2 separate regions of the Homo sapiens genome follow, and region 1 is linked to region 2. The links are contacts of gene promoters, found by promoter capture Hi-C in human tissues and cell types (Jung and others, 2019). All regions are on one chromosome and are shown on one strand. The core of a region is centred on a gene start or on the middle of the fragment in contact, and the rest is flanking DNA. Distances in the headings are between cores, read along the strand shown. Region 1 overlaps KPNB1 (karyopherin subunit beta 1). Region 2 holds the start of OSBPL7 (oxysterol binding protein like 7).

Region 1 (4,500 bases), core at 588-3,087, 140 kb before region 2:
TTCTAAGAGCTGAATAGAACTTCTCACAGAAAATGAGAAAACATGGAGTAAGGAGTTTTGAGAGTATCGCGGATGGCAACAGTTCACTTTTTTGGCACAGAGATTTCTTTGCAGAACGCTTCATGTCCTGTTTTGAGTGTTCACATGATAGTTTATTCCAGACCCTCAAGGTGTCTGTATTACACCCCATTAAACTCTGATGTTGGTCAACAATTGCCTCTGTCTAGTGACCTCTACTGAGGGTTTTATTTATCTTTGAAATTTGCTAAGAAACCCATAGCACTGGTTTGGAAGGCTCAAAACATTATACTGGTATGGGGCTAGGAGCTCATTCTCAGCTGTGTTTGTTTTGCACAGGGACTTATGTACAGCATTTGGGAAGGATGTACTGAAATTAGTAGAAGCTAGGCCAATGATCCATGAATTGTTAACTGAAGGGCGGAGATCGAAGACTAACAAAGCAAAAACCCTTGCTACATGGGCAACAAAAGAACTGAGGAAACTGAAGAACCAAGCTTGGTAAGATCTTGCCTCCACTGTCCTCTTTCTTCTACTTCCTGGAGGAGGGGGGTATGTTTTCTTTAGGCCATTCTGGCAAGCACTGCCTTCTGGCATTTTTTTTGTTTGTACTTTTTCCCATGTAGGTGCTTCTGAGTCAGGCAGCCTCAGTTTTTCCTTGAGCCAAATGTTTGACTCCTCATAGTGATGGAGAGCAGAACTTTTAAAACTGGAATTCACTGAAATTCCCTGAGTATTTTGGGTCCTAATAAAATCATCAGTAATGCCATTTCCCCCTAATTCTCTTCTGTTTTCTATTCCTTTCCTCATGCCCTATTCTTTCTTTACAGCAGTGCTTTTAGACGTTGCCTAGCTCTAGAGAAGATTTCCAAAGTCAAATGTTTTTTTGTGTGTGTGTGTGTGTGTGTGTGTTTTCTTTTTGAGACAGAGTCTCACTGTCGCCCAGGCTGGAGTGCAATGGCACAATCTCGGTTCACTGCAACTGCTGCCTCCTGGGTTTGAGCAATTCTCCTGTCTCAGCCTCCCGAGTAGCTGGGATTACAGTCACATGCCACCACACCCGACTAATTTTCTTTTTTTCTTTTCTTTTCTTCTTCTTTTTTTTTTTTTTTTTCTTTTGGAGACAGTCTCGCTCTGTCGCCCAGGCTGGAGTGCAGTGGTGCGATCTCAGCTTATTGCAACCTCTGCCTCCCGGGTTCAAGCAGTTCTCTGCCTCAGCCTCCTGAGTAGCTAGGATTACAGGTGCCCTACCACCACCACACCTGGCTAATTTTTTTGTATTTTTAGTAGAAACAGGATTTCACCATCTTGGCCAGGCTGGTCTTGACCTCCTGACCTCGTGATCCACCCACCTCGGCCTCCCAAAGTACTGGGATTACAGGCGTAAGCTACCATGCCTGGCCCAGTTTTTGTATTTTTAGTAAAGATGGGGTTTCACCATGTTTGCCAGGCTGGTCTTGAACTCCTGATTTTAGGTGATCCACCCACCTCAGCCTCCTAAATTGCTGGAATTATAGGTTTTTTTTTTTTTTTTTTTTTTTTTGTATTTTTAGTAGAGATGGGTTTTCACCATGTTGGCCAGACTGGTCCTGACCTCAGGTGATCCACCTTTGTCGGTCTCCCAGGTGTGCACCACCACACCAGGCCTTGGCTCCTACTTTGAAATGCAATCTTGTTTGTTTGGAGACAGAGTCTCCTCTGTCACCCAGGCTGGAGTGCAGTGGTACAATCACACCTCATAGAAGCCTCCAGCTCCTGGGCTTAAGTGGCCCTCCTGCCTCAGCCTCCCAGGTGGTTGGGACTGCAGGCAAGCACCTCCATGACTGGCTAATTTTTTTTTATTTTTAGAGACAAGATCTCCTGTTGCCCAGGCTGGGTTTGAACTCCTGACCTCAAGAAGTTCTCCCTCCTTGGCCTCCCAAAGTGCTGAGATTAAAGGCTTGAGCCACTGCACCCAGACTGAAATACAGTTTTAATTTCTTTCACTCTTAATTAGTTATCTTACTCCACAGATCTCAGTAAAATTGGCTCTTTGAGTTTCCCTCGCACCCTCTGATGTAGGTGTTAATAAGAGCAGGTCAATGGCACATAGGACAAGAAGAAAGAGTGTCAATCCTTGAAATGTTGACAAATTCCATTCAGGCCTAGGAGCATGTAATTGTAGGAGTCAGCATTATTGGCTCTGTTGGGTATATGTGATCTCAAAGATTGACCTTTTTTTCCATCTGTTTTCAGATCTGTTACCATTGGGATGATAACCTGAGGACCCCCACTGGAAATCTCCCATCTTTTGAAAAACCTGGAAGTGAGGAGTGTGCACGGATGCTGAATGTTTGGGAATGAGAGGATGAGTGAGTGAGGCTTGAAAACACACCACATTGAAAATCCTGCCACAGCAGCAGCCGCAGCCGCCAACAGCAGCGCTGTTAGTGAGCTAAGTAAGCACTGACTTCGTAGAAAACCATAACATCGGCCATCTTGGAAAAGAGAAAAACAATGGAGTTACTTATTTAAAAAAAAAGAAAGAAAGTTATCTCTTCCCAGGAGAGGCTAGAAGTAGCTTTTCTGTCTTTTGGCCAGTGCCGAGTGGAATGCCTGGTTTGGGGGAGGAGGAGGGACTGGGTTCAGCTGTGGTGCTTTGTTGTAAAAGGCAGCCTGGCCTTTGCTACTGAGGAGAAAGATGGAGCCTGGGTCTCAAGCCCACCTTCGCTGTACCTTTGCCACATGGTACTGTATGCTTGCCAGCTAGAAGGAGGGTCAGGGATTTTTTACAGTCTGAGAATGAGTGTGTGTGAGTGAGGCGGTATCCACATTCTCAACTTCAAGTCATTGCAGTTTCTTTTTCCCAGAAAACAAGGGGTTAGATGTTGCATTTCATAAAACTAACCGAAGTTTTGTTTACTGATGCAGCACAAGAGATGTAAAAAAAAAAAAAAAAAAAAAAAAAAAAACACACACACAGAGGAAAGACGCTCTTTAGGTTTTGTTTTGTTTTTTTTTTTTGGTTTTGTTTTTTGTTTTTTTTACTCTAGGGAAAACACTGACGAATGGTCAGAGCTCCTATCCTGATCTTTTCATCAAGGCGCCTTTCCTAATAATATGGTTCAACTGTGAATGTAGAAGTGGGGGGGAGGGGGGAGAAAAAGAAAACTCTGGCGTTAGAGGATATAGAAAAATATAAGTACAATTGTTACAAATAACGCAGACTTCAAAAACAAAAAAATCACAACCCAAACAAACCAAAATTTAAATGATCAGAATTGGCAGCACAAAGAAAACGCCCTCTCCTGACTTGTATTGTGGCAGTCTGAACGCCCCCAGAAAATTGTGCCAAAGAGTTTAGAAAAATAAATATACAATAAAAGTAAACACATACACACAAAACAGCAAACTTCAGGTAACTATTTTGGATTGCAAACAGGATAAATTAAATGTTCAAACAATCTGATAAAATAACCATTTGGAAACTGCTTGGCCTTCTGTTCTTTTATTTGATTGACTACAATGCGGTATTGGTCTCTTGCTGCACTTCAAAAGCAACCAACAAAACAAAAACAAAAAAAAGTGTGTGTTGTGTGAATACACACACACACTAACTAGAAGTCTTGTGATGAAAATGGCACTTGGAAAAGGTTTTATTTTTCCACTGAAGTTGAAGGTTAATAAAATGGTGTCAAACGTCCCCTGGTCACACACTTGAATATTTTTTTAGAAGTGTGATGTGGTATGATTACCATAAATCAGACTTAATTATTTTCCCTTTTACAAGGGAACAGGGCATCCTGAATTTTAGAGCCTTTCAGCAATAAGAAGGGATGTTGGTGAGCTTTGATCCTCTTTTGGTTTTGCAGTTGTTAGGAGTTTTTGCTGGCATTTTGAATATGCTGCTTTCAGAAAAACCAAGGAAGTTTTAAAATTGCTTCCTGGTCCTTAGAGGACTAAAAACAAGACCCTCATTCCCACTTTCATTTCCACTCTAGCAAAAACTGGGCTTGCGTTTTTCTCCAACTCCTCGTTTATATCCTCCCTTCCATGTCCAAGCCTTCCATTCCTAAGTGGGATTGGCTCAGTTTTGCCCATCCATATGGCAGCATCTCTAATAGCTCTTGTACAGGGTATCAGATATTGTGCCTTTTGGTGCCAGGTTCAAAGTCAAGTGCCGATCTATGAACCAGTGTACAAAAAAAAAAAAATCCAGGTATTTGAAGGAGAGACGCTCCATTGTGAATAAAGAGCTCATACCAGCTCCTAAGCCCTATTAAGAAGAGGCCTGGTCCTCTAATGCCTTGTTTCCATTTCAGTTGTTCTTTGAGAGACAGAATGATGTACTAACCATTCGTGATTATTAAGATAGGGTTGGGTCAGGGCTTAGGGAGGGGGCAGAAATATTGGGGATAGAAAAAAAATCTGATCATTCCTCAGTGCTACCCATTTCTGTCCTGTGTGGGCTGCTTAGCTAGACAGCAGGAGAATAAAGTACAC
Region 2 (4,586 bases), core at 499-2,998:
TGTCCCCAGCCTGACCCGAGGCTCCTCCACCACCTCCCACAGCTCAGAGGCCTGCAGTCCAGGACAGAGGGAGGGGAGCACTGGTGAGACGTCCGCCTTGGCCCCTCCCTGTCTGGTTCCAGCTTGGCCCACCCACCACCGCTTTCCCACTCTCTGACCTGCTGAGCACTGCTGGGCTTTGAGGACTGAGCGCTCTCAGGCAGGAAGGGCGGGTCCCTCTCTTGGAAGTCCATGGAGAAGGGAGAGGCCACTCCCTGCTGGGGATGTAGAGCAGGGAGCAGGGTGGAAGGGGAAGGATGTCACCTGCTCCTGACGGGGTCCTTGAAGCAAGAGAAAGACCCCCTTAACGCAAACTCTGCTATCACCTTCCCCACCTCCAGCCCCTCCCACACCCTCTGAGATAAGGGCTCCCCAACATACCCTCTGCTCACCTGCCAAGCCTCTCCCAAGTCTGCCCCTCTGTCCCGACCCCACCCATTTTCACCTGATATGGACACTGCCCTGAGAGTGAACTAGCACACAGCAGACGGGCAGGTGCCCAGGGAAAACCACAAGACATATGCCCAGCCCCGCCTTGGGCACATACTCTGGGGCTCCAAGAAACATTCAGTGCTTTCTTTAGAGGCTTCCCTGGGAGTGCTCAGAGGTGAAGCAAGGGAGTGACAGAAGAGGCTCCAAGAAGAGACAGAGGGGTTCAGAGACTGGACAAGCGAGACCTCCTCAATCCAGCTGCCTCTGCCTTCAGGACCCCTCCACCCTGCCACCGTAGCTCAGAGACTTCTCTGCCATGATCTTGCAGAAAACTCCCCAGCCTCCCACCAATTAATCTCCATATTATCTAGTGCTTGGAGAAACTGAGGCCTGAGATAGCCCCCATTTTCCCATGTCTCCTCCCACCAAACATGCCCCTAGGATGCCCTTTTTGGACCCTCAGTACCCCCTAAAGCCTCACCATCCCCTGTCTACCCTCACAGTCCTTGGGGCTCTGAGAAGTGCCACCCACCCAGAGAGGGCAGGACATTGGGCTAAAGGAGATACTTCATGAGAGAAGAGGGGGCCCAGGACATGCCCAGGTCTGCACAGGTCCTGCAGCAGTGCCCACAGGCACCCTTGGCACTGGCCCTGGCCATCCTGGCTCCACCGGGAGATCAATAATGCATGAGGCTCTGCATGTGTGAGACGGGGGAGGGGACTGGAGGGGCGAGGCTGGTTTGAGGTGGGGGAAGCAGCCCAGATCTTCTAATGGAGCTAGCAAGCACCTGAGGAACTGAGGCCCAGAGGGGACAGGGATGTGGCAGGAACGGGTGCCCAGGAGGTTGGGGCAGAGGGACCCTTGCTGCAAGAGGCTGACCTGGGAGGAAACTCCTGCATTCAGCCATTGAAAGTTCTCAAACTCTTCCGGTGTTCAGGTATCTCTGGGCCCTTCTCCCGGCCCTGTGGGGATCCTGGCCCCTCACTGCTTGTGGGTAGAGGGGGAGGCTCTATCGGTAGGCAGGTGAAGGGTCTAGGTGAGCCAGGTGGGTGCCCCCTCTCCACCTCTATTCAGGAGCAGACCCACCAGCTTCAGGTGGGAGGAAGCTCTTCTCAGGAATGTCAGCTGCTGCCACGCAGCCCCCTTACCCCAGGGTCCATGGACGCCAGTACTCCTTGGCCCTTGCGCCGCTCTGCCTCTGAGTCACCGTCTCCGAGTCACCGGCTCCCTCCTCACCGCGCTGAGCAGTGGCAGCAGCTGCTGCAGGAACCAGGAAGGAAGGAGATGTCAGAGCCTCCCCTCTAGCCGGATCTCCCCACCTCCCTCTCCCCTGTCCCCTCCTCCCGCCAAGCTCCGGGCAGCCGCTCAGCTCTGCCCCCCTGCTCCCCGGAGGACTCAGGGCTGAGCAGACTGCCCTAGCATCGATGTGGCTTGGGAGTGGGGGCACAGTCCCTGCTGGGCATGGTTCCAGATAGATCAGAGGACTGGGGAACTGTTGGCTGTACGCCAGTGGTGATAAAGGATTTATTCAGACTAGCATGGCAGTGACCCTGTTAGTACCCAAGGCCAATTCCTAATTAACCCCCGCCCCCCGCCTCTCATTTTACATCTGAAAATAGACTGCAAAATTTGGAGCCAGCAAAAGTATCAGGTTGATGGTGGAGGGACAGATGCCCCCTCTGGGACCATAAGAGAGTGCCAAGAGCACAGTCAGCAGGGGCAGTCAAGCCAGGAAAGGGACAGCCAGCAGTCCCCACACTGAGGCCCTTCACTGGGGTGATGCCCCACTAGGTCAGGCCCCATGGAGATCTGAAAGTGCTTGTGTGTATGAAGACACCCCACAGCCTGCAGTCTCTGATCAGGAGCAGGCCTGGGGCAGTCACAGCTGCCGTTAAAAGGGCTGCAATGCTGGTCCCCTCCCTTCCCTTTACCCTTCTGCTGGAGTACTGTGCCCAGCTGCTCAATTCTAATGAAAAATCGGCTCTTAACAAAGATCTAAAATTCATTCAAATGAATGTGGCATAGACCTACAGTTTCAAGCGCAGCTAAGTTTTCTGGAAAGAAGTAGGTGGGGCCTCAGGTGAAGGATGTGATTCAAGTTTCTTCTCTGACCCCAAAAGTGACATGGGCCACTTATCCCTTCCACTTCATCCTCACCGAGCTTGGTTTACGTTTCAGGGTCTCACATATCTCTCGGGAACACCCACTGTCTTGCCTTTATTCAGAGCCTCAGTGCTGCTCCAGCCACCCCAGGAGGAGGGTGTTGTTAGCACCTGGCAGGGTTCTGGGAGGGACAGGAGCACTGGGCAGCACTGACCAGACAAGCTCTGGCATCCAGGAGCCTCAAGGGCCTTTTAAGCCACTTCCCAGTGATTGAACATCCCTGGGCATACAGCACAGGATGAGGCACTGGGGGAAGCTGGTCCTGGCCCAGGCCACAAAAGAGCTGCTGCAGGTCATCCCTGCCAGACAGTGCCTGTCCAAGACTAAGGAAGCGGTGGCATTGCTTCAAGTCCGAGAAGGAATGTTGAACAGCCACCTTCCCCGGGTCACCCCTGCATCCACCCAGAATGTGCTCCAGTCAAGGATGATGGTGGACTCTGAGTTAAGCATCCCGTCTCCTTTATTAGGAATTTCTGGTTCATGAAGACTTGCATGAGGCCTCCTACCCTAGAGCTCTCAGAATTCCCCATTAATAGAGAATCCTAGTTTTCCCGCAGGCCTTTTGTCCAGAACCACCAGAGACACGTTAGCTAGTGGGTACAGCTGTCAGCTGCCTTTAATAGGGCAAGCATGCGCGGGATGCCATTTGTGGGAACAGGTATAGGGGAAGAGGATTTTCCTAGGAAGGGAAGCAAGAGTGAGGAAAGTCAGATGACAGAGAAGCCCCTGAGAGTAAGTTTAGAGGGAGGACAACCGTGTAAACCACAAAATAAAGGAAGTAGAATATATTTCATTTTATTATAAAGCAGTGCTCCCAAACTTTTCACAGCGTACACCTCGAGGGTGGAGAACTAACATCCAAGCACACCTGGATGGTGGATGGGACCCACTTCTGGGTAACCTGATGAGGAAGCTCTAGTGAAGAAATTCAGGACGCGGTCTTCAGAGCAGAGGGCTTGGTTCAAGTCCCTGTTCTGCCACTTACTAACTGCATGACCTTGAGCAAGCCACTTAATTTCTCTGCTCCTTCTCTGTGAAATGGGTACAATGTGGTCAGCAGTAAAGGAACTAATACATGTACAGCACTCAGCACAAAGCCTGGCACACAGCAGGCTCTCACCAGGTGCCATTCTCAGCACAACTGCTTGGTTGAGCTACTGTGGCAGTGGCAGGTTGTGCCCCAAGGGGGTGGGCTCAGGAGCCCGTGCAGCAAGAGGCAGTGACCAAGGAGGCAGGGGACAATAGCCCTATCTTTTCAGGATCTCTGCCTTGGACCTGGAGAATGGAGAGACTTTGCTCCTATCACGTCCCAAGTTGGGAAAACTAAGGACGAAGCCGGTGACTGACATCTGAAATGGAATCCTCTGCATCTCCAAGTGGCCCTATACCTGACAATATCATTACTAGTGAAAACCAAGTGACAAACACACTCCCCGACCCCAAGTTCTTCCACATGTCCCATTGAGGAGAGCACAGCCAATAACGCAGAGTGTATTTATGCGCAGGGCTGGCTAAACAGGCTGGCTACGAGTCCGGAACAGTGTCAGGATCTGGCTTCCCATTGGCCGACATGACAGAATCCTTCTCGCGTTGCTCTCTGATGTACTGGTCCAACAGGGTGGTCAGCTGGAGGGGCTGGTGCTGGAGCAGGGAGTGGGTCTGGGCTGTGAGGCAGGTGAGGCCTCCTACAAGCTCCCCCTGCACCAGGGGCAGGCTGGGGAGCTTGGAGTAGTTGATAAAGCCCTGCCTGCTGAGGATGGTGTCATCAATGCAGCCACCTGGAAGAACACAGGGTCAGTTAGGCTCCTTGCAGATTGCCTTTCTTCTCTGAAAACAATATTCTGACCCTAGTAACTTGCTCTCCATTGCCCTTCTCAAAATCCTGCCTTCCCCAGGACCTGGGTTCCACTGTGCCCCACACCACACCCACTCTGCTTGGGATCGATCCCTA

Evidence for each region. Contacts are between HindIII fragments. The study calls those that stand out against the background at their distance.
Region 1: a fragment that was not itself captured here is called in contact with the fragment with the promoter of OSBPL7 in region 2 in 1 of the 25 tissues and cell types used here (spleen).

What each region holds. Positions count from the first base shown.
Region 1 is chr17:47,680,151-47,684,650 of GRCh38, forward strand. It overlaps KPNB1 (karyopherin subunit beta 1), which reads left to right. Exons shown (of 22, transcript NM_002265.6): 21 at 358-519; 22 at 2,254-4,500. The coding sequence ends at 2,254. Among named protein-coding and RNA genes, the nearest start is that of TBKBP1, 12 kb to the right of the region's middle. The HindIII fragment of the contact is 4,511 bases long and covers 1-4,093 here.
Region 2 is chr17:47,820,046-47,824,631 of GRCh38, forward strand. It overlaps OSBPL7 (oxysterol binding protein like 7), which reads right to left and starts at 1,749. Exons shown (of 23, transcript NM_145798.3): 1 at 1,621-1,749; 2 at 159-320; 3 at 1-51. The coding sequence starts at 233. It overlaps MRPL10 (mitochondrial ribosomal protein L10), which reads right to left. Exons shown (of 5, transcript NM_145255.4): 5 at 3,227-4,413. The coding sequence ends at 4,160. RefSeq lists a silencer at 1,712-1,927 and an enhancer at 2,038-2,207. The HindIII fragment of the contact is 25,136 bases long and covers 1-4,586 here.